Linked DNA regions of Homo sapiens: region 2 is linked to region 1. Evidence: promoter capture Hi-C in human tissues and cell types (Jung and others, 2019). All regions are on one chromosome and are shown on one strand. Each heading gives the region's core, a stretch centred on a gene start or on the middle of the fragment in contact. The rest is flanking DNA. Distances are from core to core; before and after follow the strand shown. Region 1 holds the start of C9orf152 (chromosome 9 open reading frame 152). Region 2 overlaps PALM2AKAP2 (PALM2 and AKAP2 fusion).

Region 1 (6,377 bases), core at 2,855-5,354:
GCTAATTTTTTGTATTTTTAGTAGAGACTGGGTTTCACCATGTTGGTCAGACTGGTCTTGAACTCCTGACTCAGATGATCCACTCACCTTGGCCTTCCAAAGTGCTGGGATAACTGGTGTGAGCCACCGCACCTGGCCGGATTTCAGGTATCTTTTAGAGCTTGTATCTCCCAGGCCTAGAGATGGTTTGGGTGTAAAAGGTGAAGGAGAAAGGATAGTAATGTTTCTTCTCTCACAGTGTTCTCATGAGAAATTAAATTTAATTTTGTCCAGGTTCCTCAAAAAAGCTAAACATAGAATTATTATATAGTCCAGCTTTTCCAAAAGAATTCACAGCAGGAATGCAAACACACACTTGTATATCAATGTTCATAGCAGCACTATTCCCAATAGCCAAAAGGTGGAAACAACCCAAATCTCCATCAACAGATGAATGGGTAAACAAACTGTGGCCTGTCCATACAATGGAATATTATTCAGCCATAAAAAGGAACGAAGTTCTGATGAATGTTTACAACATGAATGGGCCTTGACAACATGTTAAGTGAAATAAGCCAGTCCAATATATTACAAATATTGTATGATTCCACTTAGGTTGGGTACTAAAGTCATAGGGACAGGAAGTATAGTAGAGGTTGCCAGGGATGTAGGGAAGTGGGGAGCATTATTTAATGGGTACAGAGTTTCTGTTTGCGATGATGGATACGCTGGAAATAATGGTGATTGTTGCAGGGCACTGTGAATGGATGCAATGCCACTGAACTGTACACTGAAAAATTGTTAAAATAGTCAATTTCATTTACACAAATATTACCATAATGAAAAAATTGATCATTTACATAGAGTGATTAGCACATATCTGACCCACTGCAGTTTTAGATCAATGGTTATAACTATTGTTTTCATATGTCTAGCCTAGCCTCTCTTTTTTCAGAGAGGAATCTCCCTTACTCTTAAGGCTGAGAGCTTTGAATTTTTTAGTCTGTCTGCCCTGAAGCACTTCTTGACATCCTGAGTCCTTCTTCGTCATACTTGGCTCTCCTGTGGACACTGTCATTCATACACCTGCAAATCACAGTCCACTCCATAGGACAAGGTCCCCTCCTCATTGGAACCAGAGAGAAGAGAGCACAGGGAAGCCTCCATCCCTTGCAATCTTGCCCTCTTGATTCTCTAAGGCTAGATCACTAGGCTTCAGGGATGGGATAATCTCAGAGCGAACTTATTATAGGGGAGAGGAAAAGTGAAAGAACAGGGTAACTCAAGTTTTCCTGGAGTCTCCAGTGGAAAGAACTCCAAACTGAAGTTCTTCACAAGAACAGGATCCACCACTCCTGTCCTGCCCCCACTGTATACTGGGCTGACCCAGCCTGCTGCTCTCAAGCCAGCTCCCTAAGGGATTCCTTCTTCAAGTCTCTGAGTCTCTACCCACCAATGACTGGTCTTTGTATGGACAGGGTTATTGTCTGAGTCATTCTCTCTGGAGTGGTACCCCAGTTGTGAGTGATACCTGTTGCCACTCAAGTCTCACAGAATAGCTGGATCCCCTGGACAGGAGTGGACCTGGAGCCTCTGGTCTAAGTTATTTTACTGGAAGCTCCAGGGAGGGCTGTAGGGATGCTGGTTCCGGTAATGAACTAACCTGCTACATTAAGCACAGTCTTATCTCTCAACCAGAATGGGACATTTCATGTTCCATACAGTTTACATATATACAGAAAAACAAAATATTCCCTAGAATCACAAGACATCTTATTCCTACTCCAGCGTCTCCAGCCCTGAACAACTTTGAAGCTTATTTCCAGTTCCTCTGAAGGATATACCTGGATAATGAAAGTCACCCATTTAGTGGCAGCCACCCAGAACAAACTCCAGGCTTGATCATCTTTTTTCATTTATTTCTGAAGACTCCCTGGGATGAGATAGAGTTGCCAGTTTTTTCTTATACTATTGTTATTGTTATCACAGACCAAGGAAAGGAAAGTTTATTCAGTAAGTGCTATTGAAACAACTGGTCAATTATTTGGAGGAAAAAACCCCTAGATCCTTGCCTTATACCTAACACAACACCAAAATAAATTTCAAATGGATTAAAGATTTGAGTTTTAAAAGAAAGAGGAACTATATGAACTAAAAGAAGGAATTTAAGCTCCTAAAAGGCATTCAATCAGCAGTAGACAGCCTCAATTTACTTCTCATCAAAATATCCACAAACGCACCCATATAGAAAAAGACAAAAACTGTTAATACTAAAAGATGAAGGCTGACAAGTAAATGCGAAAATATAGTAGAAATTTCTACTGCCATTATTTCTCTCCTCCTCTTCTCTTCTCTTCTCTTCTCTTCTCTTCTCTTCTCTTCTCTTCTCTTTTCTTTCTGAGACAGGAGCTCACTCTGTTACCCAGGCTGAAGTACAGTGGTGCAATCATGGCTCATTTCAGCCTCGAGCTTCTGGGTTCAAGTGATCATCCCACCTCAGCCACCCGAGTAGCTCGGACTACAGGCATGTGCCACCATGCCTGGCTAATTTTTGTAGATACAGAGTTTCACTATGTTGCCCAGGCTGGTCCTGAACTCCAGGGCACAATCAATACACCCACCTCAGCCTCCCAAAGTGCTGGGATTACAGTTGTGAGCCATTGTGGCCAGCCTACTGCCATGATGTCTACTGCCATGATTTCATGGCAGGTGCAGCTGGTCCAGCATGGATGGGTTGCTCTTGCCTTCATGATAGAGTGATCTACCGATAAAAAGGTATGAGGAAGCTTTGGCTATCTCTCTCGGTATTTTTTTGAGACAGATTGAGCTCTAATCCAATGTGATTGCTGTACTTATAAAAAGGGGAAAATTGGGCACAGAGACACCCACATAGGAAGAACATCATATTAGGCCGGGTGTGGTGGCTCACGCCTGTAATCCCAGCACTTTGGGAGGCCAAGGCGGGCGGATCACAAGGTCAGGAGATCGAGACCACGGTGAAACCCTGTCTCTACGAAAAATACAAAAAATTAGCTGGGCGCGGTGGCGGGTGCCTGTAGTCCCAGCTACTCGGGAGGCTGAGGCAGGAGAATGATGCGAACCCGGGAGGCAGAGCTTGCAGTGAGCTGAGATTACGCCACTGCACTCCAGCCTGGGCGACAGAGTGAGACTCCCTCTCAAAAAAAAAATAAAATAAAAAAATAAAAAGGAAGAACATCATGTCAAGATAAAGGCAGAGATTAGGCAATGTTTTTGCAAGCCAAAGAATACCAGAGATTGCTAGCAAACCATCAGAAGCAAGGTGAGAGGCATGGAACAGATACTCTCACACAGCTCCAAGAAGAAACCAACCCTGCTCACACCTTGACTTTGGACTTCTAACCTCCAGAACTCTGAGACAATAATGTTTGTTGTTTAAGACATCCAGTTTGTGGGATTTCGTTATGGCAGCCCTAGCAAAACTAACATATACTACCCAGTGAAGATTTGCTCTCCATCTTCCACGGCTCCCCCACATCAAATGACTAGATCTTGTCTGGTTAATGTCCAAAATGTCTTGTAGGTTCAGGCTCTACTCTGTTTCCATTGCCTCTGTAGACATATTGGGTAATTGGGTAATCAGTAAGCACCGTGATAGGAGAAGATAGAAAGGGACTTAGTTGACCAAATGCAGCAAGGCTAGGTCAAAGCTGGTGTAAGAGGGAGAGGGTCTGGGATTCAAAAGCAATGTGGAAATGTTGAGGCTGGCAAGCAGAGAGTGAGGGGATGCCTAACTTACCACTTGGTTGGAGAATGCTGAGACGGCAGAGGCTGCACCAAATGTCCAAGGGGTAGGGCTGGCCCGAGGCCAAGATTCCCCTGGGCTCTGTCCCATGGCTGACTTTAGGGCTGAATTTTCACCTGGGGTGTGTGTTGGGGTCTGAGTGGAGATCTTGGGGAGATCTTTGCTACTGGGTTTCTTTAGGGTGTGGCCGCGGGGCACACATCCAGAGGCACCGACCTTGTGAAGCTCCCGAGGGTGTTCTTTGAACTACTGCAAACCCAACCGGCAGGTTTGCTGAAAAGTGGCCACGTTCCAGTCCAAAATGTGTGAGCAGAGCGCGAGCTTAGCACTCCCCAGCCCCAGTCCCAGCTCTGCCAGGAAAGGGGAGACTTCACCGTGGCACTGGGAATTGGATTCTAAACTTTAGGATCAAGCAATGGAAGGACCTGGAATAAGACACCTTCTTGACCCCCCTGAAGGGCTCTGAGCAGCTGGGCTTGCCTTTCTCTTTGCTCCCCCAGTCCTCCCCTTACTTCTCGGTCTCCCACTCCCCATCACTCCTTTCCCTGCCTCCTCCTGCCTGTCTCCATCTTCCTCCCTCTCTTTCTTCTCTCGCCCCATTAATCCCCGCTTGTCACTATCACCTCCTTCCTCCAGTCTTTCCCCCTTCGCTGCCCCTTCTTTCCTCTGACATTTCCTTCTCCTCTTACTGCCACTGTCTCCCACCTTTCTCCTCCCCCACATTTCTCCCTATCCCTACCTCCTCTTCCCCTTCATCTTTCTCCTTCCCCCTTATTTTTCTATCTCCTTCCTCAGTCCCACTCCTCTTTCCACCCTCCTTTTGCCCGTCACTTCTCCTTCTCCCTCACTGCCCCCTCCCTCTCTCTCCCCTCCCCAGGTCCTGCCCCACCCAGCTGTGTTTGCTTTTCTCCCGGATCCGGATGGAGGGGTTGCCCTGCCCGTGCCCAGCCCTGCCCCACTTCTGGCAGCTTAGGTCTCACTTAATGGCTGAGGGCTCCAGGACTCAGGCCCCTGGGAAAGGGCCCCCACTCAGCATCCAGTTCCTGCGAGCCCAGTATGAAGGCTTGAAGAGGCAGCAGAGGACCCAGGCCCACCTCCTGGTGCTTCCAAAAGGTAGGAATGGACAGGTGCTGGGGAAGGAGAGACTTACCATGGGAGACCTGAGTGGCAGAGCTGCAGGGAGGCAGAGCCAGGGCTTTGCCAGCCCTCCCTCCCAGTGGGGAAGAGCAGGGGAGGCGGGCTCAGGGCAGCTCTGCTCAGCTGTCCCACCTGCTAAGGGAGCCAGGGGCCTCAGCCAAGCACCTGGCTGCCAGCACTGTTCCTGGCCTCTGCTCTGATGTTCTAATCTTGCTAGACTGGTCAGCCTGGTGAGCCAGGCTTGGCCCCCCTGCTAGCCCAGGTATGGCGATAGGAGCTCTGCTTCCTGGCTGGGTCTAACTAAGGCACCTCCTACAAACCAGAGAAATTCACTCTGGAGGTAGAAGACATGGCGTTCCCAACAGCCTGGGAACTGTCTGGGCCAGAGGACGCCTAGGGCTCAGAGACCCATGAGGCATCCCAGGCTCATCCAGCCTCAAACATCAGGCAGGGAGGTGTGATTGGACACAGAAACCCCCTCATGGGGAGAAACCTCCTCCCTTTAGGAACTCAGATTTCATTCCAGGAGGGAGTTAGAGGCACAGGGCTCAGAAAGCAAGGGCATGTCAAATCCCAGCCCTTCCTCCTCTAACAGAGGAACAGGTTGAGGGAGAAGGGAAGATACCCTGAAAGGTCAAAGCTGGGCTCTGTGGGATTCTGTGGTTATTTGTAGAGTTCAGTAGACTCTTTGGGCTGCCCTTTGCCAGGCCAGACTGGGCAGGAATCAGGGGCCAGAGGGACCTCTCTGTCTAGGGCAGGAAGTGTGCTGCCTTTTGGGAACAAAAGTGGCACCTCTGAGCTGAAGGAGCCCATCTCCCATTACCTGGGCTGTTGCCAACCAATGGAATCCTCGTTCCTGGCAGGAGTGAACTGGCACAGCCAAACAGTCACCATCTCTGCAGGGCATAAACTGAAAGGTTCCTAAAGCTCTATCCCACCCTTGAGGGTATTTATTCATTCAGTTATTCAACAAACATTTATCAATTTAAATCCCTATCAAATGGAAACACAATGCTTAATACACCTGCAATTCAGACTCACAAATCTAATTGCTTAGTGGGGATGATCCAAAGACATCTCAAATTCAACATGCCCCCAGAGAATTCACTATACCCTGTGCTCGTCCTTTCTCCTGCTCTTGGTAACTCGGTACCCCCTTTCCCATCATTACTAGGTGCTAAATTATGGTTCATGCAAGGAGTGCCCAGGTGTGGCTTTCTCCGAGAAGACTTCTGACCTCCCAGCTAGGTCAGGGTCATTCAGGGCACTTTCAGCAGTTTGCAGTTCCACATTTTTTTTTTTTTGAGACAGATTCTCACTCTGTTGCCCAGGCTGGAGTGCAGTGGGGTGCAATCTCGGCTCACTGAAACCTCTGCCTCCCGGGTTCAGGCAATTCTCCCTGCCTCAGCCTCCTGAGTAGCTGGATTACAGGCACCTGCCACCATGCTCGGTTAATTTTTGTATTTTTTTTAGTAGA
Region 2 (6,377 bases), core at 1,764-4,263, 42 kb after region 1:
TGGATCCATTGTAGATTGGCCCCAAACCAGACACTGGGATTGAGTCACCAAAAAAGTCCTTTCTCTTTTGATTCCTGGGTGTCCAGAGTCTGATGGGGGGACTTCCTTTTCGTTTCATTTTCATCATTGTATATTGCAGCTTCTGGTCTACATAAGGATTGCTGAGTTTGTTTGCACTTTAATAAATAGTCCATTAAAATGCTTTCAGTTGTTAATTTCTTGGTTTCTTGGTCTCCCAAGCACCAAAGACGCTTCCTGGGTTGAAGGAAGTTTATTCGTTGTCTTCTTCCTCCTGGTTGGCATAGATCCCTGCTTCCCAGCGCAAAGCCAGTGCGCTCTTTCTTCGATTAACCCGTGTGGCCTCGAGGACCTGTAAAGAGAGGGGAAAAAATTATGCAGAGTTCATGGATGTTAATTATGAACATAAACCGACTTCTCTGTTTCTTTCTTCCTTTCTCTTTATCAACTTGAGAGGAGAAAGTGATAAAGCACTGCTGGGAGATAGGAGAGACGCTGGAAAAAGGGGAATGGGAGGTTCTGGTTATGCATTCATCTCACAGCCAGTATTCATCTGCTACTTGACCCCTAGTTTTCACCATAGAGAAATTTAATTTTCATGAAATGTTCTGCAAGTTTCTTTGAACTAGCCGTGATTCTGCATCAAGTTTTCAGATAAAGCAGATCCCTACACGCAGCAGATCAGTGCTGTCCAATTGAACTTTATGCAATGATGAAAACGTATCTCTGCTATCCAGTATGGTAGCCACTAGCCATACGTGGCTATTGAGCACTTGAAATAGGGCTAGTGTGGCTGAGAAGCTAAATATTTAATTTTATTTCATTTTAATTAATTTTAATTTGAATAGCTCCATGTGACTAGTGATTACCATATTAGACAGCACACTATAGATGGTCTTAGTCTCTTCATAAACAAGCAAACCAGAAAATAATTCCAAACAATGGGACCAGTGTGGATTCAGTCCATCAAGCTTTGCAAACCTATATAAGCCATGATGATATTTATAGTATAAAAACCTACTTTGGCAAAATTAAACTAAAAAAGCCATTACATGAAAAAAAAAAGTTCTTGGATCAATAGAAGCAATCTCAGCATTCTGATGCAACTTCAGACCCCACATGCTAATCAATGAAATGAAAGGTGACAACACTAAGGACAAGTAGGCTCACCACCACTGAGGGAGAGCCTCCCTTCCTCCCATTCACTAGGGCAGTCTGTGGAATCCCGAGAGGAGACTTCAGCCTATCTGGTCCAGTTTCAGTTTGATCAAGAAGAGATTCCAGATTAATGGCATTTAGGTTGCCAACATATGAAAAATGGTTCTATTTCATGACCATGCAGAAAACAAGTCCAGGCATTCTTGCCAATTGTTCTGGCATTTGCTTAGGATGTACAGTTTCTGATTTTGAAGAAAAGTCCAGTAGAGCCAACATTGGTTGATTATGCAAACTGCAATGAAGGCACTGCTCATTCTAAATATAATCAGTTAGGCAAGGGACAGTGATGTTGGTGATATGGATTGGCTGTGTCTCCACCCAAATCTCATCTTGAATTGTAGCTCCCATAATCCCCTTGTGTAGCAGGAGGGACTCATAGGAGGTAATTCAATGTGGGAGCGAGTTTTCCCATGCTGTTCTCGTGATAGTGAATAAGTCTCACCAGACCTGATGGTTTTATAAAGGGCAGTTCCCCTGCACACACTGTCTTGCCTGCTGCCATGTAAGACGTGCCTTTGATCTTCCTTCACCTTCTGCCATGATTGTGAGGCCTCCCCAGCCATGTGGAACTGTGAGTCCATTAAACCTCTTTTTCTTTATAAATTACCCAGTCTTGGTTATTTCTTCATAGCAGTATGAAAATGGACTAATACAGTTGGCAACTCCAGAGAAGCAAGGAGATGCAGTTACAGGCAGAGGTGGGAGCCCAGACATAAGCAGATTGTGGGTAGATGGGAGATCGGGGGTCCATCTCAACCTGCTTCTCTGCACCTTTGTCAAAGGAATGGACCACCCAGAGCTTCAACATATCTTCCTCTGTGAAGCCTCCCCTTTTCCTCCTCAGTCACGTTTGCTGAATGAATGATGCATTGTTAAGCACACAAGCCATGTGTGTTTTGCATAATGTGTTTTGTATGTAAGCATATCACGGTCACTCACTCAATATCCACAGATATCTACGAATAACAAATTAGTAGGAGGAAAGCATGCTTCCAAATCTGTATAGTTAAATAGAGAAATTTTCTAATAGTCTAATGTGTGGTAGCATGGAACTGAAAAACAGCACTGGACTGCACGTGGAAGTCTTGGGCTCTATTTCCAGTTTTGTCCTTTGTTGTTCATCTTTTATCTCACATTTCTTATCTATAACATGGAGAACACAGCTACCCCACTTCACAGGCTTTCTCAGAAGGCACTGTGGACTCAGAAGTCCAGGCAGGTCTACTTCAAATCCTCATGACCTTGGAAAAGTCACTTACCCCTGTGCTTCAGTATCCCCATGTAAAATGGGGATCATAAAAACTACAGCATAAAGTTGGACGGATAAATCAATGAGGCAATGTATGTAAAGTATAGTTCCCAGCACATAGTAAGCTCTCAAACTATGATGGAATAATTATTTCTATCATCATGTGAAAGGGATATATAAATTATGAAGTGGCATACAAATAGGGCGTTTTATAAAGAACTCTACATTGTATAAAAGGATCATCTCTTTGCCTTTCAGATTGCAGATACAAACAGAAAGGTTTACATCAAAGCTAAAAATAAATCTAAAGTTCTAAAAACTATGGTCCCCATCCTCTTGGAATGTTCTTTGTCTTGTTATTTAAACCCTATTTTAATTCTCAAACAACTTGAGCAAATTGAGTTTGCTCTGCTCTTTAGGAACTCTTGTTACAAGCCATCTATCAATCCAATTTACACATATTTATTAGTTTCCTACCAAGTATAAGGCACAGTGCTTCGTGTTGAGGATAGAATAGTCCCTTCCCTCATGGAGTTTAGTGACGAAAAGTATAATGGGCAGAAAAATAATACTCATAATTATGGAAACGTTTAGTATAGCTTGGGTTTGGACATCTACTTGTCAAGAGCCCCAGTAATTCACTTATACCAACAATGAGCTCTCTTTTCTTAATTCATTCCCCTAGTATGTATGCCCATTTACCATGGTCATACAATCACTTACCATGGCCATACAATAAATTTCTAGTGAAATCTAAAGCCTCTAGTAATGGCACAGACAAGAAAATAAACATCCTTACTGAAATACCTGGCAATCTTGATATAAAGCTGTCTTTGGGTTCATAAGGCTTATGACCCAGGGGTGTCTGGGAGTAAAGCTGCACCACAACTGGTCTTCAGAAGATTCAAAAATCAAGGTATTTGAATGAGTATCTGTTCTGTAATTAATTCAGACGTGTGTGTGTGTGTGTGTGTGTGTGTGTGTGTGTGTGTGTGTGTGAATCTCTAGCAAATTTAGAGCTTTTATTACTTGTTTATTACTGCATATTAACTTCACTTTCTAAAGTTCATTCCTTTATTTTCTGGGCAAAAAGGCATATGTCTCTGGGGCTCTAATAATGTCATACTCATGTCCTAAGTACGATGTTACTGTTTGAATCCTCACTACTAGTCTATGACATTTATGCTGTTATTACTCCCATTTTTTATATGAAGAACCTGAAGCACAGGGAGGTTAAGTAACTTGCCCAGAATTACCCAGTTAGCAGAAGGCAAAACCAAGATTTGAACTCTGCACTCTGGGTGCAGAGTTGATGCTTGAGGCCACCAGACTATCTGGCTGCCCAATGGCTGTAAGGAGTCCAGAAGGAGACACACCAGAGAAGAGCAATCAACACTCCCCATGGAAATGGAAAAGGGAAAACAAAAAACGATCTGATTTAAAGTTTTATTGTGGCTGGGTGCAGTGGCTCAAGCCTGTAATCCCAGCAGTTTGGGAGGCCAAGGCAGGCAGATTGCTTGAGACTAGGTGTTCGAGACCAGCCTGGCCAACATAGTGAAAACCTGTCTCTACTAAAAATACAAAAATTAGCTGGGCATGGTGGCTGCCACCTGTAGTCCCAGCTACTTAGGAGGTTGAGGCATGAGACTCGCCTGAGCATGGGAGGCAGAGGCTGCAGTGAGCTGAGATCGCACCACTGTACTTCAGCCTGGGTGACAGAGTGAGACGGTGTCTCAAAAAAAAAAAAAAAAAAAAGTAAACTAAATAAATAAACAAAGTTTTATTGTTTTCACAAATTCACATTCAGGTCTGGTAGGGAATAAAAAACAATTATCTCTCAACAACCCTTTAATATTAATTTTTCTCTCTAATGCTTAGGGAATTCAAGTGAATTGCTTAACTTTGAAAGCAATCAATATAGAAAATTTTAATTTGGACATATGAAACAAAAGACAGATATGTTAAATAATATCACCCTATTCATATTAATATTTATATTTCATCTTCCAACCTGCTTTTAAATTGAAGACAGAGTGGGCCCAACTCTATCTTCCTTGGATATATTTGACCAGATTTTCATTGTTTTAAATGGACTCAAAGGGGAGACGGGCTTAGTCCTAATTCTCAAACTGCCATCCTCCAGATGAGAACCACAATTAGACGTTAAAGAAGGTACAGAATGATATTCTCAGTATTCATTTGATATCTTATGAAAGAAAATTACTGATAATCAGCAGGTCAGCTCTATATTTAAATATAATTCTTTGGCTAAATAGAGAGACCAAAAAACTTATTATGCTACAGGTTAATGCAACCAACTTGAAAAATAATTTACAATATCTAGTAAATGTTAGGATGTATCAGGCTACTAGCCAGTGCTTCTACTCCTAAATATAGAGACAGGTTCTTCCATAGGTACATAAAGAGACATGTATAATAACATTCATAAAAGCATTATTTCTAACGGTAAGAAAAACTGGAAATAGTCTACATTTCCATAACAGAAGATTGAATAAATAGTGATATATTCATTCAATGGAATACCATACAGCAGTTATAAAGAATGAACCAGAGCCACAGTGATCAACAAGGACACATCTCAAAACAATGCAGACAGAACAAAGTCAGGAGCAGAAGATACTGCAACATGATTTACCGCTTATAGAATGTCTTCAAACATGCAAAAATAAGGTGTTGTTTATGTATATACACATTTGTAGTATAAGTATAAAACCATGCATGGAAATGATGAACAACAAGCTCAAAAATAGTTACCTCTGCGAGATTGTAAGGGAGGAGGGAACTGGGAGAAGTACGAGAGGGCTTAAATTGTATTTGCAATACTAATTTCTTTTAAAAATATTAAATATCATGAAATGATAAGAATGGACAAAGCTGGGTAGGTGGGTTTTATTATTTTATTATCTTATATTATTCTGAATGCCAGTTCCATGATATCAGGAACTTGTTTTGTTGACTGCTGTATTCTTGGAACCTAGAACAATGCCTGACACATAGTAGAGCCTTGAAAATTGTTAAATGAATGAACGAATGATTCTCTCTAGAATTCTGTATATTTGAAATAATTCTTTTAAAATCAAAATAAAATACAGAAATAAAAATATGAAAAATATTGTGCTTTCTCAGCAAAAAGAAAAAATGGACAAAATAGAAAAAAATTAAAAGAGAAAAATATTATGCCTTCTCATAGCACACATATTTATAGCACATATATTTGTGAAATCTGTGTAAAAGGAAAGAAGACTTTTGGGGACCGAGAACAGTGGCTCACACCTGTAACCTCAATGCTTTGGGAGGCTGAGGCAGGAGGATCACTTGAGGCCAGGAGTTTGAGACCAGCCTGGGCAACATAGCGAGACCCCCGTCCCTACAAAAAAAATATAAAAAAATAAATTAGCTGGGCATAGTGGCACACACCAGTAGTTCCAGCTCTTTGGGAGGCTGAGATAGGAGGATCGCTTGAGCCCAGGAGGTTAAGGCTACAGTGAGCTATGATTGCACCACTGTACTCCACCCTGGGCAACAGAGTAAGACCTTGTCTCTTAAACAAGGAGGCTTTTGGAGAAATCAAGGCTTAGAGTTTCTAAAATAAAAATACACGTTTAAAGATTGGAGGGAGGGAGGTCTAGGATGGTTTACATTTGATAAATCTGTAGATTAGGATGGTTCATCTTAAATCTATAGAATGGAGCTTTCTAGCTTTATGTTAAGGTAAACAAAGAATGGGTGAAAATCCATAGCTCAATCTGCATGAGCTGCACTGTTTTCCAACCAGGCCAAGTATACTTGCTATTAATGCCTAAAGAAACTTTAAAAACCAAAATAGCCCATCACTTGTGTCCTCTGGTCCAAACGTCTTCAAGATTCGTGA

Evidence for each region. The method cuts DNA at HindIII sites, captures the fragments that hold promoters and counts their contacts. A contact is called where the count stands out against the background at its distance.
Region 2: a fragment that was not itself captured here is called in contact with the fragment with the promoter of C9orf152 in region 1 in 2 of the 25 tissues and cell types used here (adrenal gland and aorta).

Annotation. Positions count from the first base shown.
Region 1 is chr9:110,205,886-110,212,262 of GRCh38, reverse strand. C9orf152 (chromosome 9 open reading frame 152) reads left to right here and starts at 4,104. Exons shown (of 2, transcript NM_001012993.3): 1 at 4,104-4,876. The coding sequence starts at 4,684. RefSeq lists enhancers at 4,434-4,934, 4,935-5,435. The HindIII fragment of the contact is 9,571 bases long and covers 2,281-6,377 here.
Region 2 is chr9:110,162,392-110,168,768 of GRCh38, reverse strand. PALM2AKAP2 (PALM2 and AKAP2 fusion) reads right to left here. Exons shown (of 11, transcript NM_007203.5): 11 at 1-370. The coding sequence ends at 272. Among named protein-coding and RNA genes, the nearest start is that of C9orf152, 43 kb to the left of the region's middle. The HindIII fragment of the contact is 7,446 bases long and covers 1-6,377 here.